6 separate regions of the Homo sapiens genome follow, and regions 2, 3, 4, 5 and 6 are each linked to region 1. Evidence: promoter capture Hi-C in 16 types of primary human blood cells and fetal thymus (Javierre and others, 2016). All regions are on one chromosome and are shown on one strand. Each heading gives the region's core, a stretch centred on a gene start or on the middle of the fragment in contact. The rest is flanking DNA. Distances are from core to core; before and after follow the strand shown.

Evidence for each region. The method cuts DNA at HindIII sites, captures the fragments that hold promoters and counts their contacts. A CHiCAGO score of 5 or more calls a contact.
Region 2: a fragment that was not itself captured here is called in contact with the fragment with the promoter of TMEM63A in region 1 in 2 of 17 cell types (erythroblasts and non-activated CD4 T cells); the score reaches 6.1 in erythroblasts.
Region 3: a fragment that was not itself captured here is called in contact with the fragment with the promoter of TMEM63A in region 1 in 16 of 17 cell types (fetal thymus, endothelial precursors, naive CD4 T cells and 13 more); the score reaches 11.1 in fetal thymus.
Region 4: a fragment that was not itself captured here is called in contact with the fragment with the promoter of TMEM63A in region 1 in 2 of 17 cell types (naive B cells and erythroblasts); the score reaches 5.4 in naive B cells.
Region 5: a fragment that was not itself captured here is called in contact with the fragment with the promoter of TMEM63A in region 1 in 1 of 17 cell types (naive CD4 T cells); the score reaches 5.5 in naive CD4 T cells.
Region 6: a contact is called between a fragment that was not itself captured here and the fragment with the promoter of TMEM63A in region 1, in 2 of 17 cell types (naive B cells and endothelial precursors). The highest score is 6.3, in naive B cells.

The regions. Positions count from the first base shown.
Region 1 is chr1:225,879,799-225,884,505 of GRCh38, reverse strand. TMEM63A (transmembrane protein 63A) reads left to right here and starts at 2,126. Exons shown (of 25, transcript NM_014698.3): 1 at 2,126-2,202. RefSeq lists enhancers at 1,208-1,257, 1,318-1,367, 3,570-4,520 and silencers at 1,878-2,037, 2,598-2,717. The HindIII fragment of the contact is 8,028 bases long and covers 1,232-4,707 here.
Region 2 is chr1:225,445,453-225,450,159 of GRCh38, reverse strand. LINC02765 (long intergenic non-protein coding RNA 2765) reads left to right here. Exons shown (of 3, transcript NR_187303.1): 3 at 1,575-2,156. Among named protein-coding and RNA genes, the nearest start is that of LBR, 20 kb to the right of the region's middle. RefSeq lists enhancers at 2,328-2,887, 2,888-3,448, 3,449-4,009. The HindIII fragment of the contact is 3,451 bases long and covers 294-3,744 here.
Region 3 is chr1:225,488,461-225,493,167 of GRCh38, reverse strand. ENAH (ENAH actin regulator) reads left to right here. Exons shown (of 14, transcript NM_018212.6): 14 at 1-4,707. Among named protein-coding and RNA genes, the nearest start is that of LINC02765, 23 kb to the right of the region's middle. The HindIII fragment of the contact is 2,064 bases long and covers 1,128-3,191 here.
Region 4 is chr1:225,510,995-225,515,701 of GRCh38, reverse strand. It overlaps ENAH (ENAH actin regulator), which reads left to right. Exons shown (of 14, transcript NM_018212.6): 7 at 802-1,106; 8 at 2,686-2,831; 9 at 2,988-3,045; 10 at 3,843-3,891. Among named protein-coding and RNA genes, the nearest start is that of LINC02765, 46 kb to the right of the region's middle. The HindIII fragment of the contact is 516 bases long and covers 2,045-2,560 here.
Region 5 is chr1:225,528,611-225,533,317 of GRCh38, reverse strand. ENAH (ENAH actin regulator) reads left to right here. Exons shown (of 14, transcript NM_018212.6): 4 at 2,680-2,764. Among named protein-coding and RNA genes, the nearest start is that of LINC02765, 63 kb to the right of the region's middle. The HindIII fragment of the contact is 169 bases long and covers 2,374-2,542 here.
Region 6 is chr1:225,547,559-225,552,265 of GRCh38, reverse strand. The region is part of intron 3 of ENAH (ENAH actin regulator); the gene reads left to right. Among named protein-coding and RNA genes, the nearest start is that of LINC02765, 82 kb to the right of the region's middle. RefSeq lists an enhancer at 2,774-3,273. The HindIII fragment of the contact is 220 bases long and covers 1,807-2,026 here.

The DNA.
Region 1 (4,707 bases), core at 877-3,376:
TAATCCCAGCTACTTGGGAGGCTGAGGCAGGAGAATCGCTTGAAGCCAGGAGGTGGAGGTTGCAGTGAGCTGAGATCACACCACTGTACTACAGCCTGGGCGACAGAGTGAGACTGTGTCTCAATAAGTAAATAATTAATTAAAAATTAAAAAATAAAATAGTGATTTTACAAGCACTTCACACAACTGACATAACAAAGGCTGTGGCTATCTCAACTCACATATCGATCCATCAAGGCCTTCTCTTGATTTTGAAATAACCTTAACCTACTCAAGAACAAATTTAGAAATCCTTTCTCTCTCTGAAATCTTTGTCAGTGGCTCCAGCATTCTAATTACCAAGACCGGAACCTTGCACTTGCCTGGACCCATGGCACAGACCAGACAGGTGGGGGCACCATTCATTGAGGAAGGAAGGAGGACAGGCAGGTGCGGGAGTGGGGAGTGGAAGAAAGATTGGACAGGGACAGTCTAAGGAGCCAACGGGGAGTCCAGGGGCCACACCCAGGACTCTGCAGACCGTCAGATGTGGAGGTAAGAGAGCAGGGAGGGGGGATGGCCAGGCGCAGCTATGGAGGGACAAGGGCAGAGATGATACTGGCGGGGGGCATAGAGGAAAAACCCTGGAAAATAACTAGTGGCTAGAGCTTTGGGGAGAGAAGGGGAAAGACAGATGGGACAGAAAAGAACTGAGAGAGGCAGGAAGAGACCCTCCCCACCCCACTCCTGGACAGCCACAGACTGGCGCTAGAATCAGGGACAGGGAGGTAAGGAGGAATTTTTTTTTTTTTTTTTTTTTTTTTGAGACAGAGTTTCGCTCTTGTTGCCCAGGCTGGAGTTCAATGGTGAAATCTCAGCTCACCGCAACCTCCGCCTCCCAGGTTCAAGCGATTCTCCTGCCTCAGACTCCCTAGTAGCTGGGATTACAGGCATGTGCCACCACACCCGGCTAATTTTGTATTTTTAGTAGAGACGGGGTTTCTCCATGCGGGTCAGGCTGGTCTCGAACTCCAGACCTAAGGTGATCCGCCCACCTCGGCCTCCCAAAGTGCTGGTATTACAGGCATGAGCCACCGCGCCCGGCCATAAGGAGGATATTTTTATGCCGTTACAGAAAAAGATGAAAGCTCAGAAATGGAAGGGAGGTCGGAGAACCTGCAAAGGCATGCATGTGGGGTGAGGACTGCTCAGAGCTCAGAGAGGGGTGCTGGAAGGGACCTGAGAGGAAGCTTTGGTCCAACCACTCATTTCACAGATAGGGAAACAGGGGCCTGCGGACGGGTTGGTTTGCTCCTTGATTCCCAGGGCGCGCGGTCCTCCCCGAACCCAGCCTCGCTTCCCGCGCAGCGCCCAGCAGTCCCTGGCGCGGCGGGCCGGCCCTGCCCTCGCGAGCTTGCGGTCCGGTTGTGGAGGCCACCGGCTCCCTGGAAACATTTGGCTCCCGGCCGGGAGGCATGCCGCGCTCTCGGACCTGGGCTGGAGTAGGTGCCCTTGGCGGCCCTGGCTCGAGCAGTAATGGACTAGCCCCAGGGGGCGTTGGAAATGCTGCGACCCGCCCCCACATTTTTGCCCGAACGGAGACCCTCCGGGCTTTCACGGTCCGGCCTTCTACAGCGGCGGGGGAGCCGTGGCCTCTTGCAGGGCGCTCCGCGCGGTTCCCGACTACCCGGAGCCGAGGTGCGGGCTGAATCCTGCTGAGCTCCCCATGCTACCACCCCCGCAACCCCACTCTCCCGGGGCGGGTCTAAGAGCTCTTCGGGGAAATTCAAAGCACTACAGGGACCAACGTTTGCAGATGCTCTCCCTGCGCCGCGACCACCCTGTGCTTGGCCCAGTTCTCCCGGAGGCGTCCAGAGACTGGGCTCGTGCCGGGGGACGGAAGAGGGTGCGCCCCGGCGGATCCCTTCTTGGAGCCTGGACGTGAGCTGGCCGGTCCGGGGCTTGCAGACCTCCGGGAGGAGCTGCGGGGCTGAGCGGCGACCAGGAGGCCAGGCCGGGGCAGAGGACCGCCGAGGGCCACCGCGGGAGGCGCAGTCAGCTGCGTACAGGCTTGCGCCGCCGCGGGCCAAGACTCCAAATTGGGAAAGGGGTGGCCGCAGCTCTGCGCATGTGCAGGAGGCGCCGGAGTTTCACTTTGTAACTTTTAAGTGGTCGGAACACGCCCCGCGCTGCTGGGTCCCGCCAGACACGCCGCCGCCGCAGGTACAGGGGACAGGGGGCGTGAGGAGGGGCAATGCACCCTCCGCCTTTCCCGGGACGTGCGCGCCAGGTGTCCGGTTCCGGAACGGCTCCCAGCCTACGCAGACCCCAGAGCCCCCGACCCCAAGCAGGGGGTGACGACGCGGGATTGGGTGGGAGGAGAGGGTCCGGGCAGCGCCTCCATTCCAGCCCTGCGCTCCTTGGGAATTCCTGGCGGCTTTTCAGGACTTTCCTCTCCGGCTTTTCGCTTTCAGGGCTGGTATCTCCTTCTTCCCCACCCCTCTCTTTGGGATTTGTCGGCGGAGTCCGACCTCCCACCTAACTAGGAGTGCAGCTATGGGCTCCTCGGACCCTATACGAGGCCGGGCTGGGAAAGGGCCAAGCGTCCGACTCTCCTGACGCCAGGAAGGCAGAGGCCACCCCTCGGGCTGTTCCTGGGTGACCACTTCCTGCAGCCTTGGCGGAGTCCTGAGGAGGGAGGCTGGGGACTCGGGGACTGGGGGGAAGGGCGGGGGCGGAAAGGGTGAGGCGAGCTCTGCTAAGAAACCAAATCCGCAAAGGTTCCAGCACCTGATAAGACTAGCTACCTGAGGCCCTGGAGGGGCCTTGGTCATTCAGCCCCAGGCAGGTGGTGTCCTCTTCAAGGGCAGGGGTGGACAGCGTGGCGGACCCACTGACCCTCCCTTGACACCTCTCAGGTCATCCTCAAGTCTGCTGTGCCTTCAAGGGGGATATGAACGGAAGCCGAGGCTCCTTTTCCCTTCACACGCCCCTCTCCTTTGTTTAGTGTGGGGGCAAAGGTCTCTCCTAGCTGTTCGTTGGGCTCTAACAGAGAAGACGTCAGGTGGGATCCTGCCCTTGTGTTTCCCATTAGCTGGAGGGGCGACTTAAAATAAAGGCAGACAGCTTCTAATTGCTTGCTAGGGCCGGGTCCTGGGCTAAGTGCTTTACAGGTGTTGTTTGGGATCTGTGCCTCCCAACAGCTCCGTGAGAGAAAGTCATCACTCGCATTTCCTGGCGAAGGAAGCCAAGGCACAGAGTGGTTAGGCTGCTTGTCTGAACTGCGTGGTGCTGAGACCCTAACTCCAGAGCCTGCTCACATAATCCCTGAGCCACACTGCCTCTGGTTTCAGCCAGGGGCTGTGTCATTTCCTTTGTGCTCCAGGGTAGGAGGTAAACAGTTGTCCAGGTTACTGGGTCCTGTTTGGTGTTGCCATAAGGAGAAGTTTGTACTTTACTTTGCAACCTTATTCTGCATCTGAAAGACCAGAGTTAGCTCCTGAGGCAGAAGGCCTGGAGCTGCTTGTAGTTTCGCTATTGTCATCACAGGATTGAAAGATTTGGTGATGATAAAATTACCCTGAATTTGTACGGGCCTTCTTGCAAGAACGAACAATATCCATATACTTCCTGCAACATTCTGCTGGTATTTCTAGAGCTTGTCAAGTTGACCACCAGGCCAGTCCTTGCTGCCAATGGAGACTGGCAGTGGATTAGCATAGGTAGTTTACTTTGGCAAATTTAGACCAGCTGTTGGATTTAGCCCTCTCCCACTGGCCACAATCAGACGCTTGCCTGCACATGGGTTGAACTTTGGGTTGGGAGCGTGAAGTCACCTGCTGCCCACTCTGGCTCTTGGGCCTCAGCAGTAATTCTTGGCTTTCCTACCCTCGGCATATTGAGTAGGAATAAGGGGATGAATGGAGAATTTCTGGAAGGCACAGGTAAGTGCTAGGCATTCACATACATCTAGGATGACTGAATATTGCCAGGGGTTCTCAGCCAGGCAGTGCCACTTCAACCACAGTGCCTAGCTGCTGGTTTGGCCTCCTCTATACAGCTGCCAGCTGGGTGCTCCCCTCCCCCTGCCTTCTCCTCAGCCTGGCAGCACTGTCCCATGGTGTCTGTGTTCCCAGCTGCCTGCTCAGAGCGTGCCTGTTTGTGAAAATGCAGAGGAGCTGTCCCATGGAGAGCCAGAGGGACGGAGCTGTTTCAGGGGGATCTGGACTTTATGTGTCTAATGGGCAGGGACAGGCTGGGACTGAGCTGAAAGGTCTGAGAGAGATTGTGGGTCCCCAGAGCTCTACCCTAACCTGGGTGCTCATCGGAGAGGGCAGACAGGACTGGCCACCTGACCTTACCTCCGTCTCAGGCTGATAGTATTTGCTAGCCACCTCCCTGAGTTCATATCAAACTTTGTCAAACCACCCTGGGAAGCCTATTTGGCAAGAGACAAGTAACTTAGAGGCATGACTGGGGCTGGAGGGAGGGGGAAGAGGAGCCGCAGGTGTTTCCCTCCGCAGAGGCCTCTCTCCTCTGCAGCACTGGCGAGGGTATGCCACTCCCAGCACCACCACAGCACCCTCCCCTTTCCAGGGACAATGCTCTCTCTGTGAGCATTTTATGGGGATGTTTTTTCTTTCCACTTCACATTTCAAGCCTTCCTTGTTCATGCTGCTGTGTTCCCTTTTCCTGATTCTAGCTCTTGGGGAACCCTGGGGAGCCTCC
Region 2 (4,707 bases), core at 770-3,269, 430 kb after region 1:
GAGAAATGTGTCAGGAGCTTGTTCTGCCTTGGAGGGGGTCTGGAGGTGTGAGGCATAGGGGCTGCCCCTGGGTAACCTGGATCATCAGCTGCTGCGGGGCATGGCCTGCACCATCCTGCCTCCCCAACTTGGCTCTCTCTGTGTCCCCTGCCACGTCAACCTTCCCATCTTTTCTACTGTCTTCTAAAATCCTGCCCATACTCCAAGGCCCTTCTGGAATGCCACCTCCTCCTGTCACCCTTGCTTGCTAATCCCTGACACGTGACCTCTGTTGCTCCTTTGCCATCAAAGCTTGGCAGTGGTCGAGGGAGGCAGTGCTCTCCAATGAGCAGAGCACAGGCTTCCCTTCCAGGCGGCAGAGACCTGGCTCTGCCATCTTCCCACTGTGCGACTGTGGGCATGTCACCTGACCTATTTGAATCTGATTGTCCTCATCTGTAAAATGGGAATAACACTCTCTACCTCGACATTGCAGGGTCCAGAGAGAGGGAGGGGCCGGGTAGAGGAGACCAAATCAACCGCTTGCAGACTCCTGTGCTCTATCATGGAAGGTTCCTAGGGGCTCCTCCTCTGCCCCAGGTGCTCCTCAGGGGCCAGGAGGACAGAGCAGAGGCAGGTCTGGGCAAGAAGGGTGTGACCGCGCTGAGATATGCACCCGTATAGTTGGCAGTCGGCGCCTGCCTTTCCTTGTTCCCAACCCACTCTAGAGTTCAGGCTCCGGGAGAGCAAGGATGGGTTCTGACTCATCCTGTAAGCTCGACGGGTGAATGCCCAGCCTAGGAGGTGGCATAGAGGATACAGGTGGCCCTATGATTGAATTGAGGTAGTGAAGAGTGGGAATTTTTTTTTTTTCAATAACAAATTGTGGCTGGGTGCAATGGCTCATGCCTGTAATCCCAGCACTTTAGGAGGCCGAGGTGGGTGGATCACTTGAGATCAGGAGTTCGAGACCAGCCTGACCAACACGGCGAAACCCCATCTCTCCTAAAAATACAAAAATTAGCTAGTTGTGGTGGCACACGTCTGTAGTCCCAACTACTTGGGAGGCTGAGGCAGGAGAATCACTTGAACTTGGAAGGCGGAGGTTGCAGTGAGCTGAGATGGCGCCACTGACCTTCAGCCTGGGCGACAGAGCAAGACTCCGTCTCAGAAAAACAAAACAAAACAAAAAAAAGAAACCCAAAATTGTGTTAAGCTGAGATCCAAGCAAATAGAGAGGCTGAAAAGAACACAGTTATGTGGGGTTTTCCCCAAGCACAGCTCCTCAATCTCAGCTTTCCACCCTTTGCTGGGTCCTTCCCTCATTCAGCTTTATGGGAGTCTTTATAGAATTCCTACTCTGAAGGTGGCGCCTGGGTCACCAAGTAAGACACAGAATTTGCCCTTGGGGTGCAGAAATAGTGGGTACCCAAGGCAGGATGCCCCAGGCACCATGAGGACATCCAGACAGGGGGGTCAGCAGCCTGGGACTCAATGAGAGGGAGGCGCTGAAACCCAGAGGCCACCCCAAAGTTCAGACCCTGAGAGGGTTAACTTTTGCCCACCCCCACCAAGCCGGACTCTTTTCTCACCAGAGTGGACACAACCTGAAAACCAACTGGACTGAGCATCCTTCTCCTAAAATCTCAGCCAGAAGCCACGATGGAGGGTCCTGGGAAGGGAAGAGATGTGAAGATTTCTGTGATTCTAAAACCTTGGGTCTGCCTGCAAACTTCTCTCTGATCCCAGCCGAGAGCTGTGCACACGCTAGCTAGCCCTGTCACACAATAGCCCAGTGTTCCCGTCACAGTGCCTGGGAATGAGAGGCTTTTGAGGCCACAGAGCTATGACAAGTCCCCAGGTTGAATTGACTCTGGGAGGACAAATTTCTGAGAGACTCACGGGACCCTTATCCAGGACAACCTCACAAAGATCCCTGAAACTGAGCTTCCTCTGCTTCGTGCATAGTTTGAGGTATAAACTTTCCTTGTGTCTCGGTCAGATGAAGTGAAGGATGAATATTATCCCAGGCTAAAGTAACGAAAAGTCCAGAAGCCAGCGATGACAGAGATGTGTGTGGAAGAAGGCTGTGAGCATTTCCATCAAACCCTGTGAGTTTCCGAAGATCTTATCCCGAAGATATGTGTTTGGCCAATAAAACACTGAATAAAAATCCATCATGTTTCCAGAGCCAAGTCGACTTCTGCTGGGCTGGGGTGAGGCAGAGGCAGAATCAGACCTTATAAAGATGTTTTGAATAGCGGCTGTTCTGGGATCGCAGCCCAGTGACAGTGAATGCTTTCTGAGTTCTCGGATGAGAAGGAACAGAGTGACAGACTGACCATAACTGGCCACTGTGGTGTGTGCTCAGCTCCAGACCAGCACCTTATTTGGTGGGGGGAGAGGGTTCAAGGCCCCAGCGAGACAGTGAGTCCTGGTAGGGAAGGAACTCTGGCCAAGCTGCAGGCTGTGCAGTGGAGTGGGTTAGGAGGGGCCCTCGGGGAGGGAAGAACAAGGAGAGAGGGAAGTGAGAGGAAAGGAGGTTTCTCCTTCATCTAAATCCCAAGTATACACCCTTCTAAGGTCTGTTCTGGCCCTTCCCTAGGGAGTGCCTTCCCCTCTACCTGCCAGGTCCCATAGATAAGGATGTCCTCCCCTGCAGGCGCCTGGCCTCCATCACAGCATGCCCACTCTGTGCCCGCTGCAACCTCCTCTGACTCTCCCACTAGACCGGTGCCTGGTACACATGCTCCTGCGTGCATGAACATCGGTCAGCTATGGGTCCTCAAGATGACAAAACCCCCTGCTCCTGTGTCCTCACGGGGATCTGCACCAGCACTGGGCTGAACACTCTCCCTGCAATCTGTCAGTCACGTCTTCTGTAGCATTTTCTTTCTGGCAACAACGGTTGGGGTCATTAAAAGTGTCTTTGAAATGCAACCTTTTAATTACAGGAGGAATACTGCCCCTGGGAAGGGGCCTTTCTTCAAATGCTCCAGGAATTCCTTGGCCAATACACTCCAGGGGGAACACAGCCCAAAACGGGCCTGTGGCTGTGATCAGACCCAGGCATCCTGTCAAAACAGGAGCCTGGGAAGGGGAAGCTCAGGGAAGGAAAGGGGCTCCTCTTGGGAAGAGCAGGGGTGCTGGAGGAAGAAACCCACCCAGTCCCCTTTGGGCCTAACTTAAGATATGCTCACCGGCTCTCTAGCACGCAGTTTTCCCCAGGAGGTCCCTTGGCCATGACCCAAAGTTAGGAACTAGGGGTCTGCGGACGCCTCCTCCTCCCATATCAGAATATGCTCTCCACCGCCTGCACGGTGGCATTGGCTTTCTGGAGCTTTAGGGCCAGCAGGGGCAGCAACCATCTTCCCACGTGTCTCAGGCTGACTGCACACAGCTCCTCTCTTTGTTTTCAGAAGCCAAAAAGAGCCAGGCAGGCCAAAGCGGGAAAAGGGGGGGCTTCTAGGAAACACCTGGGGTGGCTGGGCAGAGGTGAGATGTGACCCTGGCTAGCCTGAGGGCTCCCTGTGGCTTTCGATGGCCAGCCTGTGATAAAGCCCTGAGAACTCCATCTCCTGTGATTTTCCTGGGGTACTGATTTTCCCCTCCCTGGGAGTCTAGGTGTTTGTTTATAATATCCAAGAATGCTAATTGAGATCAAAGTGACTCTGAAGTTCACCCTGGGGGTGCTGCAGTCTGAAAGGTGTTTTGCAAAGACACGATCTTGGTTAGCCCTTCCCTGGCGCTATGCTGCAGGAAGCTTCTCACAGGGAATAGTCCACACTGTAATCTACCTCAGGCAGGTGTGCTGCTGGGAAACTCAGTTAATGATGTCTAATCTTTAAGAGCCATGGGAAACTCAGGAAGACCTAGCTGGACAGATACTACTCAGACATTTTCTCAAATAAGTGTGGCAGAGCCACTCCTCATCTGGTTCTTCCAGTCTTAGTTACCTGCCGAGCCAGGTGTGGCAGGTGTCAGGTACAGGGATCTGGGAGCTCAGAGAGCAGTAGCAGGAGCTTTAGGCTTCAGTTTTTTCTCCCACTTGATGGCCCCAGACGCCTTGGTGAAGTGAAATGCTCCCTGCCTGGGGCTCCAGGATGCCTTCGAGTGACTGCCTTAAGGTTATTGTGTTTTCTTGTGGCTACGCCAGGATGTTCTGCTTCACCAAGCATTTCCATCCTCAATCGTCATGTCCCTACTGAAACTCTGTGTTCTCTTCTCAAGCAATTTTCTGGTAAAAACATTTTCCTGGCTAGCCTGTAAGCATTGCTGTCTAGCTTTTGTGTTAGCACTGATTCAGATGGCCACTACCCACTCTGTGCAGCAGACTTTCAAGACCAAGCAGACTGATAGGCAGGCAGGAGGGTGGAGTTCTCTACCTGCTGGAATGCCCTGAGGCCCAGAGAAGGGATGGACAGGGCATCAGTGTCTCTCCCGTGTCTCTCTTGCCTTCAACCACTGACTCACCCATGTTGTTTCTCACTTAAGTTAAAACACACAGAGGGGCTGTTCTTAGAGAAAGTCTAACTCGGCTGGGCGTAGTGGCTCACGCTTACAATCCAGCACTTTGGGAGGCCGAGGCAGGCAGGTCATCTGAGGTCAGGAGTTTCAGACCAGCCTGGCCAACATGGTGAAACCCCGTCTCTACTAAAAATACAAAAATTAGCTGGGCATGGTGGCGCACACCTGTAGTCCCAGCTATTCAGGAGGCTGAGGCAGAGA
Region 3 (4,707 bases), core at 910-3,409, 390 kb after region 1:
AATTTTTGAGACATCAAGATTTTTTAAAATATCAATACTGGAAAGATGAAACCTTCAAATTAAAACCTAAAATTGATTAGAAAGAAAAGTAAAATATTAATGCAGTAAATTTAGGATGGTTACAGATACTCACCATCAACATAAATAAATGGAGTTCTAGGATAAATTATTTGTGGAATACTAATGGTCAAGTCACATAAGAGTAAAATCTTTTGGTGAGGAGACACATTTGACAACTGCTAAAGAATTAACTAAATTTGTCTTTCTAAATAGTTTTCTTTATAAAGTAACAGAAACATTGTAAAAGGATAAATGACTGTCATAATGACTTAGGATGTTGTAAGAATGTCTGCCACATTTATTGGTTATTTCTGTTGAAATCTGAAGGAATCGATACATCTGAAAATTGAGAAAGGGAAATAGGACTGTCCCCGTTACAGATACTCTGTGATGCACACAACCTTCTAAACGGAAGTGTTAGTATCATTTAAAGCACATAGTAGGCCTTGAGTATTTGCAGATTAACATGCAGAAAAAATCAAAGATGAAGCCCCAATTAAGTGTTTGAACCAAAGAATCACAGTCACTGAGCTGCACCCCCGTTCTGTGAAGCATGTTAAATACTCATAAAGAGCAGAGAGCAGGGCCCGTAGACGCTTCTGGTGTAGGACACAGGAATTCTAGGCAGAGGGAGAAAATTAGGGGCCCCAGTTGGTGGCTGAGAGTAAAAAGAATATACCATTTGAGTAGTGCTGTTCTTTTTCCTCAGTTTTTAAAGACATATAATTCCTAGTAGTTAGGACATCTAAATAGCTCGGTAAACTGGTCAGAGGCGGGAGGATTGCTTGAGGCCAGAAGTTTTGAGATCAGCCTGGGTAACAGGGAGACTCATTTCTACAAAAAAATTTAAAAATTTAGGCCAGGCATGGTGGTGCACACCTGTAATCCCAGCTACTCAGGAGACTGAAGCGGGAGGATCACCTGAGCCCAGGGAGGACGCGGCTGCAGTGAGCCGTTATCATGCCACTGTACTCCAGCCTGGGTGACAGAGCGAGAACCTGTCTCTAAAAAAAAAAAAAAAAAATTCTAAGAGAATATAGCTTTTCATAGAAATTATTAGAAAAGCTTACATATTTCATTAGAGAGCCCAGTTTGTTAGACTACATTTATTCCGTAAAAGTTCTATATACAAATGACAACCCATAGTTTATCATGTAAATCTGATTTAACTGTTCCCTTCAATTCCAAGAAAGATTTCTTCAGCAGTAGATGACAATTCTAAAAGCATAAAGAAATAACTAATAAAGGAGATGGATGATGTTATAGGTTGGTTTGGTTGGGTTTTAGTAAATAGTTATTCTTCTAAGAAGGCTTAGAAAATCGAGAATTGAATAGTTGGTACTTTGAATTCCATAGGAAAAAGCACTCAGAAGAAAAAGTCTACATTGGCTAGTGTTTAGATTGAGAGTTAATTTTCCCATCAAGTCCAAAAGTTTCCATCCAAGTCTATAGAAACTGAGAGAAAAGGTTCTTGGCTTACACTTAAAATACACATTGTTGCAACCATATAAGAGAGATACATTACAGAACGCTTTTAAAAATTTGGTCTCTTAAGCGCCTAACAGTCCATGCTTTAGTCACATCTGTGAAACCTCTTTTCTTTTTTTCTTTTTCTTTTATTTTTTTTTTTAAAGATTAAAGGCATTTTAAAAATAAATGTTTCATGGCCGGGCATGGTGGCTCACGCCTGTAATCCCAGCACTTTGGGAGGCTGAGGTGGGCAGATCACCTGAGGTCAGGAGTTTGAGACCAGCCTGGCCAACATGATGAAACCCCATCTCTACTAAAAATACAAAAAAATTGGCTGGGCATAGTGGTGGGCACCTGTAATCCCAGCTCTTCGGGAGGCTGAGACAGAAGAGTCGCTTGAATCCAGGAGGTGGAGGTTGCAGTGAGCTAAGACCGCGCCACTGTACTCCAGCCTGGGCGACAGAGCGAGATTCCATCTCTAAATAAATAAATGTTTTTCAACGTGTTTTATGTGAGAAATACCAGCTTTTCATTATTACTACCAGTTGATCTCAGGTGTCACTTGGTTGGTTCTGCTGACCGAGGCACTGGGCATTTTAAATATGGAGTTTCCCTCCACCCATTGATCAAGTCTGAGGTTTGTCCATCCTTGGTGGCAGGCTAGCTTAACCATGGATTCACAAACCCCATTTGATTGTCGTAAGTCATAAGGCCACCCCAGTGCCAGTGGTTGGGCATCACAGTGAGTCTGAGGTGATGAATTTGAGTTAGCTGTAGGCTAGTTCCGCAACTCAGCAATAGCCCATGGATGGTTGGTAAAAGACGTTGACTTTGCCACTTAAATTTCCAGGAGAAGAATAGCTTATAGTTTATCTGAGGAAAGTAATTGGGAAGGCTTAGATATTGAGAAGAAAGCCCTGTTAAAATCTAGGTAGCATTTCCTTTCTTCTTTATTACTAGAGGGATGGGAGGTTCAGGCCTGAGTCAGGACTTTACAATTTGGTGTCCTTCCCAGAGGTACTTTGGGCTTGATCATTTTAAGTTTCAATTGCAAAAAAAAATTTTTGACGGAGTGTTGCTCTGTCACTCAGGTTGGAGTGCAGTGGTGCGATCTCGGCTCACTGCAACTTCCCCCCCCTGGGTTCAAAGGGATTTTCCTGCCTCAGCCTCCCAAGTAGCTGGGACTACAGGCGCGTGCCACCATGCCCGACTAATTTTTGTATTTTTAGTAGAGATGGGGTTTCACCATGTTGCCCAGGCTGGTCTTGAACTCCTGAGCTCAGGTGATCTGCCCGCCTCGGCCTTCAATTGCAGAAGTTTTTGAAGGGAGAATATTTGATCCTCACATAAAATGTCCTTGTTTCTGAAAGAAAACATGGTAAAAATTGTTATTGAGTCCATGTCTTTGCCACCTTGTTGGACTTGATTTCCCTTTCTCTGTGTTCCTCCCGCCCTCAGTCTCTCTCAGTCTGTCCTTTTTTGTGTGTGGAGTTGTGGGCAGGTCATTGGACTGGGACTGACTTTACCAGTTTTCAGGCTGTGGGGCTAGTCAGTCATTCTCTCTGAGCCTTCTACCTCTAAAGTTGAGTTCTTTTTTTAAATTCTTTTTGTTTTGTTTTTATTTTTTCCTTGCCACTATACAAGCAAGGATAGATAAAGCTTTTTATTATTATTGTTATTATTATTATTTCGAGACAGTCTCGCTCTGTCATCCAGGCTGGAGTGCAGTGGTGTGATTTCAGCTCACTGCAACCTCTGCCTCCCGGGTTCAAGCGATTCTCCTACCTCAGCCTCCTTAGTAGCTGGGACTACAGGCATGCGCCACCACACCCGGCTAATTTTTGTATTTTTAGTAGAGACAGGGTTTCACCGTATTGGCCAGGCTGGTCTCGAACTCCTGACCTCAGGTGATCCACCCACCTTGGCCTCCCAAAGTGTTGGGATTACAGGCATAAGCGACCGTGCCCATCCCCGATAAAGTTGAGTTCTGAATTTCCTCTTTCACTGTATTCTCGGCAGCTACTGGTTGGTTTATTCTTTTTTTTTAATCTTTTTTGGTTTATTCTTCTTTTGATCTTTGAAGAGAAGGAGAAAAAAGATCTGAGTTTGGCTCTCCCATCTTAAGTGCAGCTTTTAGTTGTTTTATAGTCATAGACGCTATTGCACTGGACAGCATGCATCCTGGATGTAAACAATGCGGAAAAATCAATGGAGTGACCATCTTGGGGTCAGTGGTGTTGCATAAAGCACCAGTGGTGTGCTGTTCTGTGTCAGTTTCCTCTGCGCCACGTGCTTTCACAGTTTGAATTACCAGCATCTCTGTGGTGGCTTCAGTACATTCTCCATTGTGCTTCAACCTGGAAGCACATTCTGCCGTTCAGAAAGACTGATTCCAATCATGTAATGGGACCACACGAGATCCATGCTCCAATTATATGAATAGCAGAAGGTCCATTTGACTCTTGTAGTTCAAGAGCTGTTTCTAAGTAAACAGACTTTCCAGAGCTCGATGAAGTGAAGAAGCCCTTCTTTCAATTCCTGGGCAGAATTCAGTGGTTTTCATATCATCTGAACCTGCTGTGCTGCTGTTTATTCTATCACTGTCAGCCTTGAAAGGAAAAAAGGAATAATCTTACCCTCCTGCCCTTCTTATTTTATATCTTCCATCTTATCCATCTATATCCATGTAGTCATTCCTTCCGAGTTCCCTGGTTTTAATCCAAAAGACTCTGTTTAACAGCAATGTCTTGGCAGACCAGGTGCCGCTTCCGTGCCATTTGAGGGCTCTGAGTCTTTGCTTCGTCTTAGGAAGATAAAGATAATTTGGCAGAAAGTCAGAGATGGAAATAGCAGTTTGGGATGATAAAAGATGGGTCCTGTTTTGCTGACATTCTTTTACTTTGGTTCTTGGTGCGTGTCCTTTGGGATTCATTTCTTGCTAGCATGAATAGGACATGCTTTTCGTTAGGTGCTTTTCTTTTTTGGAGAACATGAAGTGTTTCTAACAAAACTGAATGAGCTAGAAAGAATTCTATTTTGAGACATCTGTAGTTGATGCAAAGTATTTCTGTAATCCTCAATGACAGTACTTACATATTTGCATAGAATTTTTTTTTTAATTTTTGAGGAAACCTCTCTGGAGTCTGTATTTATAGGAGCATCCTGAAAGTCCCTATT
Region 4 (4,707 bases), core at 1,053-3,552, 370 kb after region 1:
CTGAAAACACCCCTCTTAAACCTTAACTAAAAGAGCACCTACTGTTTCAGGATTCTGTTATTAAATAAATTCTTGTTCACTCCCTTTGTGATTTTATAACATTTGAACATTTCTCTTCTTGCCCCCCATTTTGTGGGATAAAAACAACTCTACTTCAAATCCTATGGTATTTAATTATTTCCGAGCGTTATTTTGAGGTTTTACTTTGTACTAGTAAATTCCTTTACTTCAGTGATTCTCAGCCTTGGCTATCCATTGAATTTAAATGTGAAGTATTTTTTAAAATGCTGAAGCTGGGACTTACTCCTCCTTCATGTTTTTAATACAGCCACTTTGACTGTAAACAATTAAATGTATGTGTTCACTGTTACTGAATTTACTGTCTCAACACTTAAGGTTAATGTGGATTATTTTGGGTCTGATATTTCAAGTAGTACTAACTGCCATCCTATATACTAGTTTGTTTTTTCAGGGACGCTTACCTCTCTTCCAAATTTTATAAGTATTTATTTTGCTTATTTACCAAATCCCCATGAAAAAAAAAAGTCTTAATTAGATGATCTGTTGCATAGTTCTATTACTAAAGCTCTAACCTAAAGTAAGTAGTTATATATACTTGGACCTTACATTTCAGTATCTTTCAAAAACTGATCTAGACTTTTACAACTATGATAAATTGGACTCATTAAGTAAATACATGAGTCAGTTTAATTTAGCATGGCATTCTGCGTACCTTCCCACATAAAATAATATCACTCAGCTCTATTGTTGATGGTCTTACTTAACATTTCTCTCTCTCAGGCATTGTCTTGGGACCACTTGCACCTCCACCTCCTCCACCACTCCCACCAGGGCCTGCACAGGCTTCAGTAGCCCTCCCTCCTCCCCCAGGGCCCCCTCCACCTCCTCCACTCCCATCCACCGGGCCTCCACCGCCCCCTCCTCCCCCTCCTCTCCCTAATCAAGTACCCCCTCCTCCTCCACCACCTCCTGCCCCACCCCTCCCTGCATCTGGATTCTTTTTGGCATCCATGTCAGAAGACAATCGCCCTTTAACTGGACTTGCAGCTGCAATTGCCGGAGCAAAACTTAGGAAAGTGTCACGGGTAAATACCTTTCTGAAAAATTTTTTTAATATGTCTTATTCTTCCTAAATATCTAAAATGTTGAATTTATTGTATTCTAATTTTATGAAATGTTATGAACTTCATTGATTTAAAAAATTGAAATAATTTACCCTGGCGCAATGGCTCATACCTGTATAATCCCTGCACTTTGGGAGGCTGGGGTGGGCGGATCACCTGAGGTCAGGAGTTCGAGACCAGGCTGGCCAACATGTTAAAACCCTATCTCACTAAAAATACAAAACTTAGCCAGATGTGTGACACATGCCTATAATCCCAGCTGCTCGGGAGGCTGAGGCAGAAGAATCGCTTGAACCCGGGAGGTGGAGGTTGCAGTGAGCCGAGATCATGCCACTGCGCTCTAGCCTGGGTGACAGAGTAAGACTTTGTCTCAAAAAATAAAATAAATAAAAATTAAAAATTGACATAATTTAAATTTTTATAGTGAAGTTGTAAGAATAGTATAAATAATTTCTATAAATTCATCACCTACATTCACCCATTAACATTTTACCAGTATTTGCTTTTTTATTCCTTCTTTGGATATGTTTCCTTCTTTACACATGCACTTTTTTTGTTTTTTCTCTTGAGACGGAGTTTCACTCTTGTTATCCAGACTGGAGTGCCATGGCGCGATCTCAGCTCACTGCAACCTCCACCTCCCAGGTTCAAGCGATTTTGCCTCAGCCTCCTGAGTAGCTGGGATTACAGGCACCCACCACCATGCTTAGCTAATTTTTGTATTTTTAGTAGAGATAGGGTTTCGCGATGTTGACCAGACTGGTCTTGAAATCCTGACCTCAGGTGATCCACCCGCCTCAGCCTCCCACAGTGCCGGGATTACAGGTGTGAGCCATCGCACCCGGCCTACACATGCACTTTTGTTTGAATGATTTGAGAGTAACTCAGAGACACAAGCTTCTATTTTCCTAAGTACCTCAGTGTGAATTTTATAAGAACAAGGACATTTACCTGCATAACCAGTAATATAATTATCAAAATCAGGAAAGTTAACATGATAGAATACTGTAATCTACAAATGTATTATTCAAATTTCATCTATAGTCCAATGACATCTTTAGTGACAGTTTTTTTCCTAGTGCAAGATCATTTATTGCATTTAGTTATAATGTCTCTTTGATATACTTTATGACAGTTCCTCAATCTTTCATAATACTGGCATTTTTGAAGACTGTAGGACAATTATTTTGCCTGTTATCCTTCACTTTGGCTTATCTGATTTTTCCTCAAGATTAGATTCTAGTTATGCAGGGGTTGTTTTAGCAGGAATATTATCAGAGCAAAGTCATGCCCTTTTCATGGCAGCACAGGAAGAGATACATGATACTGTTTCATTGCATTCTTGGTGATAGTAGTTTTGATAAACTCTTGTTGATATATAAAGTCATGCTAAGAATCTATTGGTTCTTAAAGCTTAAAAAATAATATTTAGGTTTTTTAAAATTAATGCTGATGTTTCCTTCTGTTTTAGATGTAATATATTAATAAAAATATGGTTGTCTAACATAGGAGTTGATTATGTCTGTATATTCTCATTAAGATGGAGGATACCTCTTTCCCAAGTGGAGGGAATGCTATTGGTGTGAACTCCGCCTCATCTAAAACAGATACAGGCCGTGGAAATGGACCCCTTCCTTTAGGGGGTAGTGGTTTAATGGAAGAAATGAGTGCCCTGCTGGCCAGGAGGTAAGGAATTTCATTATAATGGACATGCCCAGAATTGAGAGGATTTTAATTGTATTCCAAATACAACTAACTAGATGCACTTCTTTCCTCGTAGAGAAGTGGTTTTTATACTGAATCAGATAATATTTTTAAAAATCGGATTTGCCTTCTTTGTAGGAGAAGAATTGCTGAAAAGGGATCAACAATAGAAACAGAACAAAAAGAGGACAAAGGTGTAAGTTAATAAAGATAGTCTACCATACCTTAAAATATGGAATTCAGGCACAGCTCATTCAGGAAATAGTGTCAGCATTTATTTAATTTGGGCTTAATTAGTTTGAACTTATATTTGCTAATTTTTAACTATGCATGTGAAGTGGCTTGTTTTGACTGTTATTTATAAATTTTTAATGGCAGTCTTAGTAAAGTGAGTTGAATATGTGAAATTATGGGAAAAGCATTGAAGTTCAAACCTGTGGAGTTTAATTCTGTTCCTTAAATGAGTGAATGACATTTCACTACTTTTTTCATCTCTTAGAATCTCAGTTCCCTTGCATTAATTTAAAAGGAAGGAATTCGCCTAAATTCATATGTTTCCCTTAGGAGCTTGATGGTTATTGGCTGTGCCCCTTCAGAGTGTAACCTTCATGCCCTCCTCCCTGATTCAGCTGGGCAAACTCTGCTTTGTCTGTGCTGTATATTGGTGTGCAACAAATAATATGTTCCCCCTGCTCCATCTGGCCACCTTAGATGCCATTCCTCAAATCTGTCTCTCGTGTCTGGCTTTGTAGCATTGGCTAGTGAAAGTTCTCAAGGAGAACACATGAGGAAAGGAGCTGTGGGGAGGGTTGAAGGGAAGATGGTTGAAGACAGGAGAAGAAAGTCTAAGCTGAAATGAAAGGGAGAGAAGACCGATGAAAGAGAAAGTGGGGAGTGGCAGAAAGAATATTAGAAGTGTTCGTGTAAAACACTAAATGTATATAGCAACAGGGGACTGGTAGATGTGATATTAATATATATCTGTATATTTAGGAAGATTCAGAGCCTGTAACTTCTAAGGCCTCTTCAACAAGTACACCTGGTAAGTTCAAGATAAATATTTTAACCTTTATAAACTTTCTCTAAATATTAATACTCCCCAGTTAAAAATTCCCCCTTTCCCCATATTTGGACCAAGTGACTGGACACTAAAATGCCAGAGTTCTTTGTTCCCACCTGAAAGCATTCACTTTTTTCCTCCTGGAAGCTGCTGTTACTTTCTTGAGGTTACTTACTAAAACAAGGAAAATATTAATGTACTATTAGATGACAAGAGTATTTTTCATAATTGTTTTTCTAGAGGTAAAAATAAAGTGAGCATGTTAGTTAGTACTACAGTCTGCTTCAGAACATTCTCAAATTGAGAAGGATGTCCTAGCCATTCATTTGGGTGATATTGATAATTAAGGGAATAAAGTTTCTGATTTGTAAACTTAAAAAGTCTCCTTAAAATTTTGGGGAAGTGTTCTTGAATTCAGTGAAATTTCTGACATTGAGAATTCTTGAGCATCTGATAAATCACCTAGAATATTAACAAAAGTATATTTCACTAGAAGTACTTGATGAGTACTGTATCCAAGATGAGAATACGAACTCATTACATATTCACATGTTATTTCTTCATATTTGATTAAAGACTAAGGGCTGGACTATCTATTGAACTCCTTATCTATTCTGGAATGAAATGACATAAATAAACTTGATGAGTTAATATCTAGAGTGGTCCATAAGAAACCATTATAGAGAAATGCTTATATTCCTACAGTTTTGATTTAAAGACAACCAGCTGCATCTACAGTTCCCTTTTTAATTTTCATTTTTTTAATTTTTTTGAGATGGGGTCTTGCTCTGTTGCCCA
Region 5 (4,707 bases), core at 1,209-3,708, 350 kb after region 1:
CGGCAGCTGACAGACTTTGCCTGATCCTAGTTGCTGCTTCATGTCATGTGGGGTGCCTTTGGTATTACTTACCAATTTTATAGCCCATTAGAATGTTTGACAAGAAGGAAAAATGTAATTGTGTACCTTAAATTTATATTTACCTGGAACTTTTAATGTTTATAGTATGTTTGTATTAATTTTTAAATGCACATAAATTTCAATGTGCTAGTTACTGCAACCTGACAATTTGAAGAAGAAACAAACAGAACAACCAGATTAAATGTAGATGTGAAAAAGTGCCAAAGGGAGTGATTCCATGCACGGACACACACACACACCCAATTTAAAGGATGTCTGGAAAGACAAAAAGCCCAAAAATCCATTATCATCACAAAGAACCATGTAGAAAAGAATTGTTAAGAGTTGTTCTAGGATCAAAATTCTCCCCATTTTAAAAGGAACTTCCTTGAAGCTTTTCATCTCAGCTGCAGGAATAAACTGTAGTAAATTTTTTTTATAATTATGATAACAGCCACAAAATATTACCCACATTTTAAAAATCTCCTTTCTGAACAGATTTGCTTAGTAAGCTTTTAAAAAGCTTTAAAAAAATATTCCAAAGCAGGTTCTGTAAATTGCTAAAAGATTTTCTTTTCTCAGCTTTTGTGAGTTACATTAAACTTGTGTTAGTTTTTTAAAAACCTGTTAAATAAAATAAATAGGATTGAGTTGAAATTTTGACGTCTTTTTTGAATCTATATATTTGAATTAAAACTGAGATTTTAATTGGCAAATTTAATCCATTAATATTACCTTTGATATATAACACCTGTCCTAGGTGTGTGACTGGTATAATTGCATTCTTCTTTGAGGTAGATGCCAAACAGGTCTAACCTACTCACATTCAGCTGTTTCATTATTTAAGCAGCCTGAGGCTTTCAACTTAAATACTCAAGTAAACATTATTTTAAAAAATAGTTAAAACATAATGGTCTTGTGAGTTGCCCATGCTAAATGCTCACATTTAGTACTTTGGATATATAAAGTACATTCCCTAAATAATTTCATGCTACCTCAGATTTACCCGCCCCTCCCCACACTTGTGTGTCCCCAGAAGAGAGGTCTTTTCTCTGTAAAGTATTAAACATTTGTGTATAGCCTAATAGGAGAGTCTGTTTTTACATCATTATTTTAATTTCCCAAGAAAAGAATTCTAGTCTGTTTACTAGACAGCAATCATGTATTTTCATTTATACAAACATTTACGTGTGTATTTAATTTCAAAAGTTTTGTTTTTTTTTGTTATTGATTACATGGGATTAATTTTTTTTTATAATATTTATTTGGTTCTCAAAATAGCAGACTCTTAGGAAATCTAATGAAATATATCACTGCAGTTGTCATCAATTTGTCTTTAGAGGACAAATAAAGTGATTAATCTAAAAACATTTGTAAAGAGGTGAGAAAAAAAGTTAGTAGGTAAGTTCAGATCAAATTAATTCTGTTTTTCCACACTTGGGATACACCAGTACTGCATTACATCCTAATAAATCTTTACTTCCGGTTGTGAAATCTACTCCACTAGTATAAAATACTTTGCACAATTAGCCCATAGATTACAAGAATTTAGTGCACAGAAGCATTTATTTCGTAACTTATTTTCCTAAGTTGTCTACAAATCTTTCAGAATATCTGTTAGGAGCATTTGCTGGTACACTAGAATTCACAAATATATGTAGTGTGTCATTACTCATATATTCTTCTCCAAGAGTGGAAGATAACTACTGTTTCTTTACTTTCTTGTTTACTGGATTAGACTTTAAGATTGTTCTATTTTAACCCTAGGTATTATATATTAGGTCCAGTATTTATCTCATTTTGTGACAGATTTGATTTTTATATCCAATGACATTAAGATGTCCCATAATTCAGTGGCATTCTATCTAAGATGCAAAAAACAGGTCTGCATTGTACATGATATGTGGGAATGGATGGTCATTAGTGTCTCATGACAGAACCATGTTGTATGAATGCAAGTTTTTTTTTCTTCTTACCCTAAATGAAAACTTAAAATTACCTGTTACATTAAAAATTCAGTTCAGTAGGTTAATTACTATATGGAAGTTTAGCAAATGTTTGTTTTCACCAGTGCTGGAAATGCTAGGCTATTAGACAAAAATGGCAGCTTAAATTGGGCAAATTTGATAAATGCTTTAGCATACTGGAGTCTAGTAATAAGGTTCTCATGCTCTCTCTCTCTCCTGTTTTTCATTTCCAGTGTTCTATTTAGGTGAGTTTTTGAATTCTGATTTTTCATTTAAGTTCTCCCTCTCCACTTCATGAATAATTACCCCAAAGAGAATGTCTCATTGTCTTAGAAACTGTCAAGCTTAGGTGCCTCTTCAGATGCTCATCGAACACTTGTTTTACTCAAGCTCTTCATATATAAATGTTTCTTTTTCCTTATTGTTGATGTTTTCCATTTGTTTCAAGTAAGCCTTCTGGAGATGATGACAGTATTATGTTGCAGTCTTTCATTTGCTCTGTGTTATGTAAAGCTTATATTTTATTTTGCTAGACAAAAAGAAGACACGTTTGTAAATATGTGATGGTTTTATGTTATTCTCATGATTTTATCTCCTCTGTCCAGCTAGATATGAAAATAATGTTCATCTGTAATGTTTTCTCCCTCTGTAGGGCCAACATTGCCTAGACAAAACTCACAACTACCTGCTCAAGTTCAAAATGGCCCATCCCAAGAAGAATTGGAAATTCAAAGAAGGTAAATTTTCAAGTTATTGTTTGTACTTTTTCTTTATGCTTCAGAAGACAAAACTGAACATCCTGTGTTTAAAGTAGATTATGTCTTATCAGCTGTTTAAGAGTCACAACTTTTATTCTTACATTAGTAAGTTTTGTGACTGTCATTAGTAAGTTACCAGATACTTGTTATGCTGGACATGAGATGTTATAAAATTTCATATGTGTTTTTTTTTGTAAAAATTATACTTAAGGTATGTTTAAAATATTGTAAATACGCTTAACAGAATTCAAAATCTTCTTATGGTTCAAGAAGTCTTACTTTTGTAATTATAAAGTGATCTGTGAGTACTATGATTTTCATGTGACAAATTTAACTAAAAAGTTGAAATATTGTTGGCTGTTTCTGTAACACATTGATCTTCAGATATTACTATAGGGTTTAGTAGTAGAATACAAAATCATTCTCTACTGGGCAGCATTCTTCCATGACTAGGAGTTCTCTGAAAGTGGTCAGAGTACGTAGGCTGACAGGCTAACCTTTGGAGTACCAGGATGGTGAGCAGGCAGGCCTCAGAACCGCACAAACGCTGAGCTACTAAAAGTTCCACTGGAAGCCCCAACTCATCTGAGGCAGCTTGTTCAGTTTCTTTAGAGAACAGTCTTCTGTGGTAAATGCCATTCCATCCATTGAGCTGGGGTTGGGGAGGACAGGGGAGGAGCTGGTACAGCTGTTCTTCAGACAGTGTATATACTTATTAATCAGCTTGATTATTGTGGCACTGCTCATTCCCGTTCTCTCTACCTGCTGACCTCAGGTTAGATCTTTCCCAGATTCCTCTTCCCATGTCTGCTTTGACCGTCTTCAGTATGTGTTCTGGGTTATGGATGCCTCCACTGCTCCATTTATTTATGTCACAGGCATTTTTTGTTCTAAGTACTTATATTGGGAAGGGTGGGGAGAGTGGAGGGAACAAAAAGCCTGAAACTCATCAGACAATAAACATGACATGGTATAGTAGAAGATGGTAAGTGCTATGGGGAAAAATGCAACAGAGTAAGGAGGATTATATGTTGTGAAGGGGCAGAGGGAAGTGCTGGTTGTAATTTTATTTTATTTTTCCGTCCATTACTTATCAGTCTCAGTACTTGTGAGTTTAAATAGAGTGGTCAGGGTAGATCTCATTGAGATGAAAAGAAGGAATTAACCAAGCAGATACCTATGTAAGTGCATTCTGTGCAGAGGCCTTAAGGAAGGATGATGCTTGTGTGTACATGGGAAAACAAGGAGGCCGTGGAGGCTGGAGCACAAGAGAGTATTAGGAGTAGAGGTCAGATCATGCAGGACCTTGCAGGCTACTGTGAAGAATTTAACCTTTACTCTGAGAGAAAGGAGAACCATTGTACAGTTTTGAACATAGGCATGATCTGACTTAAAATTTTAGCAGAATCAGTCAGTCTGCTCTGTTGAGCCTACACTATTGAGAGACGACTTGAGGCAGGTGCAGTGTTGTGACAGCAGCTCAACAAGAAAGCCAGTTAAGAGGCTGTTGCAGTGAACTAGGCAGGAGATAATGGTGGCTTCCCCCAGGTGATAGAAGTGGTTGTTGAGAAGTCAGATCCTTATATGTCTTGGTGGATTGTATGGTGGGGATGAGGGAAGGAGAGGGGTTGAGGTTTTTAGGCTAAGCTAGTGGGAAGGATGGAGTTGCCATCAATAGTTGTGAAAGACTGCGTAGAGCAGGTCTTGTTGGGGGATGTCAAAAATGAATTTTGAGGATGTTTGGTTGAGATTTTTACTGGACATGTAAGTAGAGATGTTGAATATTAGTCTCTAGGAGACTAAGGAAGAATTCTAAACATATAACTCCTACCCTTTCTGTCTTCCGGAAATCTCATGATAAATTTGCCCTACTAATGACCACCACCTTCAGTTTTCTACTTGGTCATGGGTTTATTTATATG
Region 6 (4,707 bases), core at 667-3,166, 330 kb after region 1:
ACTCGGGAGGCTGAGGCAGGAGAATGGTGTGAACCCGGGAGGCGGAGCTTGCAGTGAGCTGAGATCGTGCCACTGCTCTCCAGCCTGGGCGACTGAGCAAGACTCTGTCTCAAAAAAAAAAAAAAAAAAAAGAATCAGGAGTGTTCTTGGGAATAGATATAATTTCTTACGCAGATTCTCCAGTGTAGAAAAGGTATGTACCCTACCCCAACATTATATGGGCCACCTCCCCTTTATCTAAACAAACATACCCAATAATGTCACCTCTCAGTTTGATCATACCCTGCCAAAAATCTTTGCTTTGGATTCACAGCCAATTGGCTGCTGAAATCATCTACTGTCTTTCTTCCAAAACCAAGTTGAAAAAGCTTAACTTACATCTCCCTTCCCTTTACAAACTGTAGCCTGATAAAACTGATGAGAAGCAGAACAAACTTATTGATAAAGCAACTACAAATATTAGTCTTGCCTGTTTCTTAATGTTTTACCACTTGTTAAAACATTTTTCCATATTAAACATTTCTGTTTGTATTTTTATTTATTAGGTGCTAATATCAATATTATCCACTGTTGTCATCGGCTAATCCTTCTCAGTGATTTTCAGACTTTAAAAAGTTATGGACATTTTTGTGCAAATGAGATCTTTGGTAGTTCAGTGTATAAATGGACAGAAAATATGGAGCTTCTCTGATTGATATAGGGTTCCGGATCCGCAACCACTGAGATGCCTCCATGGTTCTCTAGAACTGAATTTGAAAATTACTAGCTCACGTTTTGTGCTAAAACCAATAATCACATAATTTTCCTTTCCTCTTCTTCCGTGTCCCCTACGTCCTCAAATTTTTTAAATTTATAAAAAACAGCTTTCTGGGGGGCTAGTCATACCAACCTTTACAAGGTGCTCTGTGTGTTTGTGTGATATTTCCTTTTTTTAATGAAAATGGTGGGTGGCAGAAATGTTTTCCTTTATTTTGTTTTTAACTTGGTATGCAATTATCTAATATACTGGAAAGTACAGAAGGTGCTAAATACAGTGAGTTATATTTGGAAGTTAAAAAAACACAAATCACATGTTCTAACATTTTTGAAAAAGAGCTGAATTAGTGCTCTTCCTTTTATACCAAATGCTACAGTGTATTTTTTCCTTTCTCCATGGAAATGGATTCAATTTTAAATGGGTGTATTACCTAAAGTGATATTTTTGATTTCTCTATTATTTATCCAGTACATTTATAGATTTTTATAGGTAATAGTTATGGATTATATAAACTACAAAGTTAATTTTTGTGATAATTGGTGGAGGCAAATTTGCCCAACTTTTATTTTCTTAAAAGGTTTAAATCATTTGAAAATAGGAAATAATTTTTAAATCCAAAAAAAAGAAAATTATATGCATAACCAGTAAGATTATCCCACTGCTTTTGTTCTCAGCCAAGATGAAGCATGCCTTTTCAAAAAGAACACCCCAAAATAAGTATTTTACCATTATCTAAAAGACTACTTTTGCTGGGTTTTATTTTTTAATCTATTGAACATGAGAACATGGTCAAAAGTCATACCTTCCTTATGGTTGAAATTTTCTAGAGGTTTTATAATATTGAGATTTCATTTTTTAATGATAATTTGGCCTGACATACCTTCCAGTATGTACATTTGTATGAGTTTTATCACAGCATTTAAAAATCTCTTTATGTTTGGAATTAATAGGATTAAAAAAATCTCAGTAGTTTCTAGAAATACTTTATAGTGACAGTTTTGTTTTTTAGTCTTCCAGATTGTTGATATTAATGCAAACAATATTAAGCTTATATCACAAAAATATTTTCAGTAAAGCGTATTTTTTATAAACTGTGTTAGGCACTGGGAATAATACAAAAATGATAAATAAAGCCTGTCCCTTGCCTGATGTCACAGTCGGGCTACAGCTGCCAGAAACAAGGCCAGCAAAATTAGGATACAGCTTGCGAATGTAGTGTGAAGAAAGGCCTTCGGAATACCAAAGAAAATTCTAGGGTCAGGGAAAGCTTTGAAGAGAAGGTGATGTTTCAGCTATGTTTGAAGAATGGGGAGGGCTCATCAGTGATAGAACATTCTAGATAGGTTTGGAAGCATGAGAGCATGGAGCAATTGGGAAATAACAAATATGCCATGATGTGGCTTGGACATGAGAATTTATGTGGTGGGGGTCAGGAGCAGGGCATCCCAAGAGATAAGGTTGGGAAGGGCCTAGTGCTGACGAGTGTGCATGTTATCATGGAGGTGGTGAAGAGTCATTGAAGGATGCTAAATAAAGGATTGATATGATCAAGTTTGTGCTTTAGGACAAGTGTGGTGAGCATGCAAGTTTACAAGCATGAAGATCAATTCAGGACACTGTTGTAATAATACCGGTGAGAAAGATGAGGCCTGAACTGACAAAGTAGAGAGAGGAGAGGAGCAGAATGAAGAGGAGGTGACCAGCTTTCATTTAGTGCTGGCTATACCTGCCACGGCAGTGTTCTAGCTTTCTACCTTTGTCCTCACATAGAAATTAAAGCCATTCTGAGGCAGGAATAATGATCTATTTATTGGTCACCTTCTGTGTGCTTGGTCTTAATCTGGCGTATACATAACCAATCATCTTTATAACAACCCTACAAGGTTGGTGGTATTATCCTTGTTTTAGAAATGAGATTGGCACTTACAGAAGGTCACTACTGTAGTGATGCGAGGACCCACAGCTAGACAGTGGCATTAGTGGCTTTTGTACCGAGGTCTTAGAACTCAACCTCTTTTCTCTTTGTCAGTAAGATGTAATGGGCAGGCCGGGAAGGAGAGAACAGTGTTTTAAAATGATGACCAGGTGTGTCAGTTTGGGCCCCCGGTAAAGATGGTCCTGTTAACCAGAGACAGAGTGAAAGAGGATGGAAGAGGAAATACTGTGCTGCAGATAACACATTTGGTTCTGGATATACTCCATTTGCGGTTCTTTATTAATGCTTTCATGAAATCTTAAAAATTTGGACCTGAAAAGAATCCCAAAGATAACCCTGGACAAAGTTTTTTAGTTTAGCTTTCCGAAACAACTAATCTTATTGGAGAATTAACATTTTGAACCCTATAAAACCTATCTGTTTGGCCAGGTGCGGTGGCATACACCTGTAATCCCAGCACTTAGGGAGGCCGAGGCGGGTGCATCACTTGAGACCAGGAGTTCGAGACCAGCCTGGCTGATATGGTGAAACCTCATCTCTACTAAAAACGCAAAAATTAGCTGGGCGTGGTGGCGGGCACCTGTAGTCCCAATTACTCGGGAGGCCGATGCAGGAGAATTGCTTGAACCCGGGAGGCGGAGGTTGCAGTGAGCTGAGATCGTGCCACTGCACTCCAGCCTGGGTGACAAGAGTAAAAACTCTGCCTCAAAAAAAAAAAAAAAAAATCTGTTCACTAAGTATTAAGTGAGTAACAGGTTTGGGGATTGGGTAGGTGGGGACAGTCTTTTCGTAGGTCTGCCTGCTCTACTTTCTTCTCATACTTACCTCTCACAGTCCTCCCTTTTGTGAATCACAGTAATGTGAGGTTAATATGTCTGTTGTCACTCCCAATTTCCAATTAGAAAGGTTGACATGGAGAGCTGGGATTTCCCCAGGCTGTCCATACCTAGAAAGGGAGGCACAAAGGGGATTGGGTTTTCGAGCCTTCAGGCCATTTATTTTTACTGCGTTTGTCTGGCCTTCAGTTCAAGATCTTCAAAGCATTTTTAAAAACGCCTTTGAGGGAAGTCAGTTTAGAGTGAGAAATTAGGAAAGCAAAAATTTGAATTTACTTTTAGTTTTGTGTTTTTAAGTAAACTGTTAAGGTCTTTATTGTGATTTAGTAGAAAGAACTTGAGTTTAGAGTCAAAAGACTCTAGTTCTGTCTCTCCCTCTGGTGCTTTCTCTAAAGCTATTTCCTAATTTATAAAATGTGAGTCATGAGAATATTTATGTCAGGATATCATGGGAATTAAACAAGGCAAAGGCATAGTATTAAACTAGAAAATGTTATTTTGAATGCTAATGTCCAAAAAAAAAAAAGAAAATGAAAATTCTATATGGATTAACTTAGAGGAAAAAAAAAAAGTAGGCTTTCAAATTTTCTCCAACATCTGCTTTGTCTTAACTGCCCGGTAAAGACATATCTTTTGGGTGTTTTCTTTTTTTCTATAGACAAATTAATTCATCCATCATTTGAGTGCATCTGTATGCCAGCGCAAATTAGACACAAGTCTTGTCCTCACAGATCTTCTTTCTCCTCTTACAGGGGAGGTAAGGCACAACCATAACACACAAGAGAAACCCTGTCTGAGGACAGATAACATACTGTATTGGGTGTGTGAAGGGGACGAGCCGCCTTCTCACTGGAGCAGCCGGGAACATATTAGTGACAAGCTGACTTTCAGGTCTGGATTTTGAAAGTTGGACATACTGTAGGCATGGGAAGATGAGGGGGAAAGACATATCAGGCCTGAGGAATAGCATACCTGTACAAAAAGTGGGAAGAATGAGCTGTGTTTGTAGAGCAGGGAATTGTTTGGCCTGGTGGGAATAAATTCAGAAAGGTAGGTGATCAAGAAGGGCGTTTGAGACCTTTGGGTGATAGAGATTCAGTGTAAGTTTTCAAGCAAGAGTGATAATGTGAGTAAAGCTGTACTCCAGAAAGCTAGCTGTGGTTTGAAAAGGGAGCTAC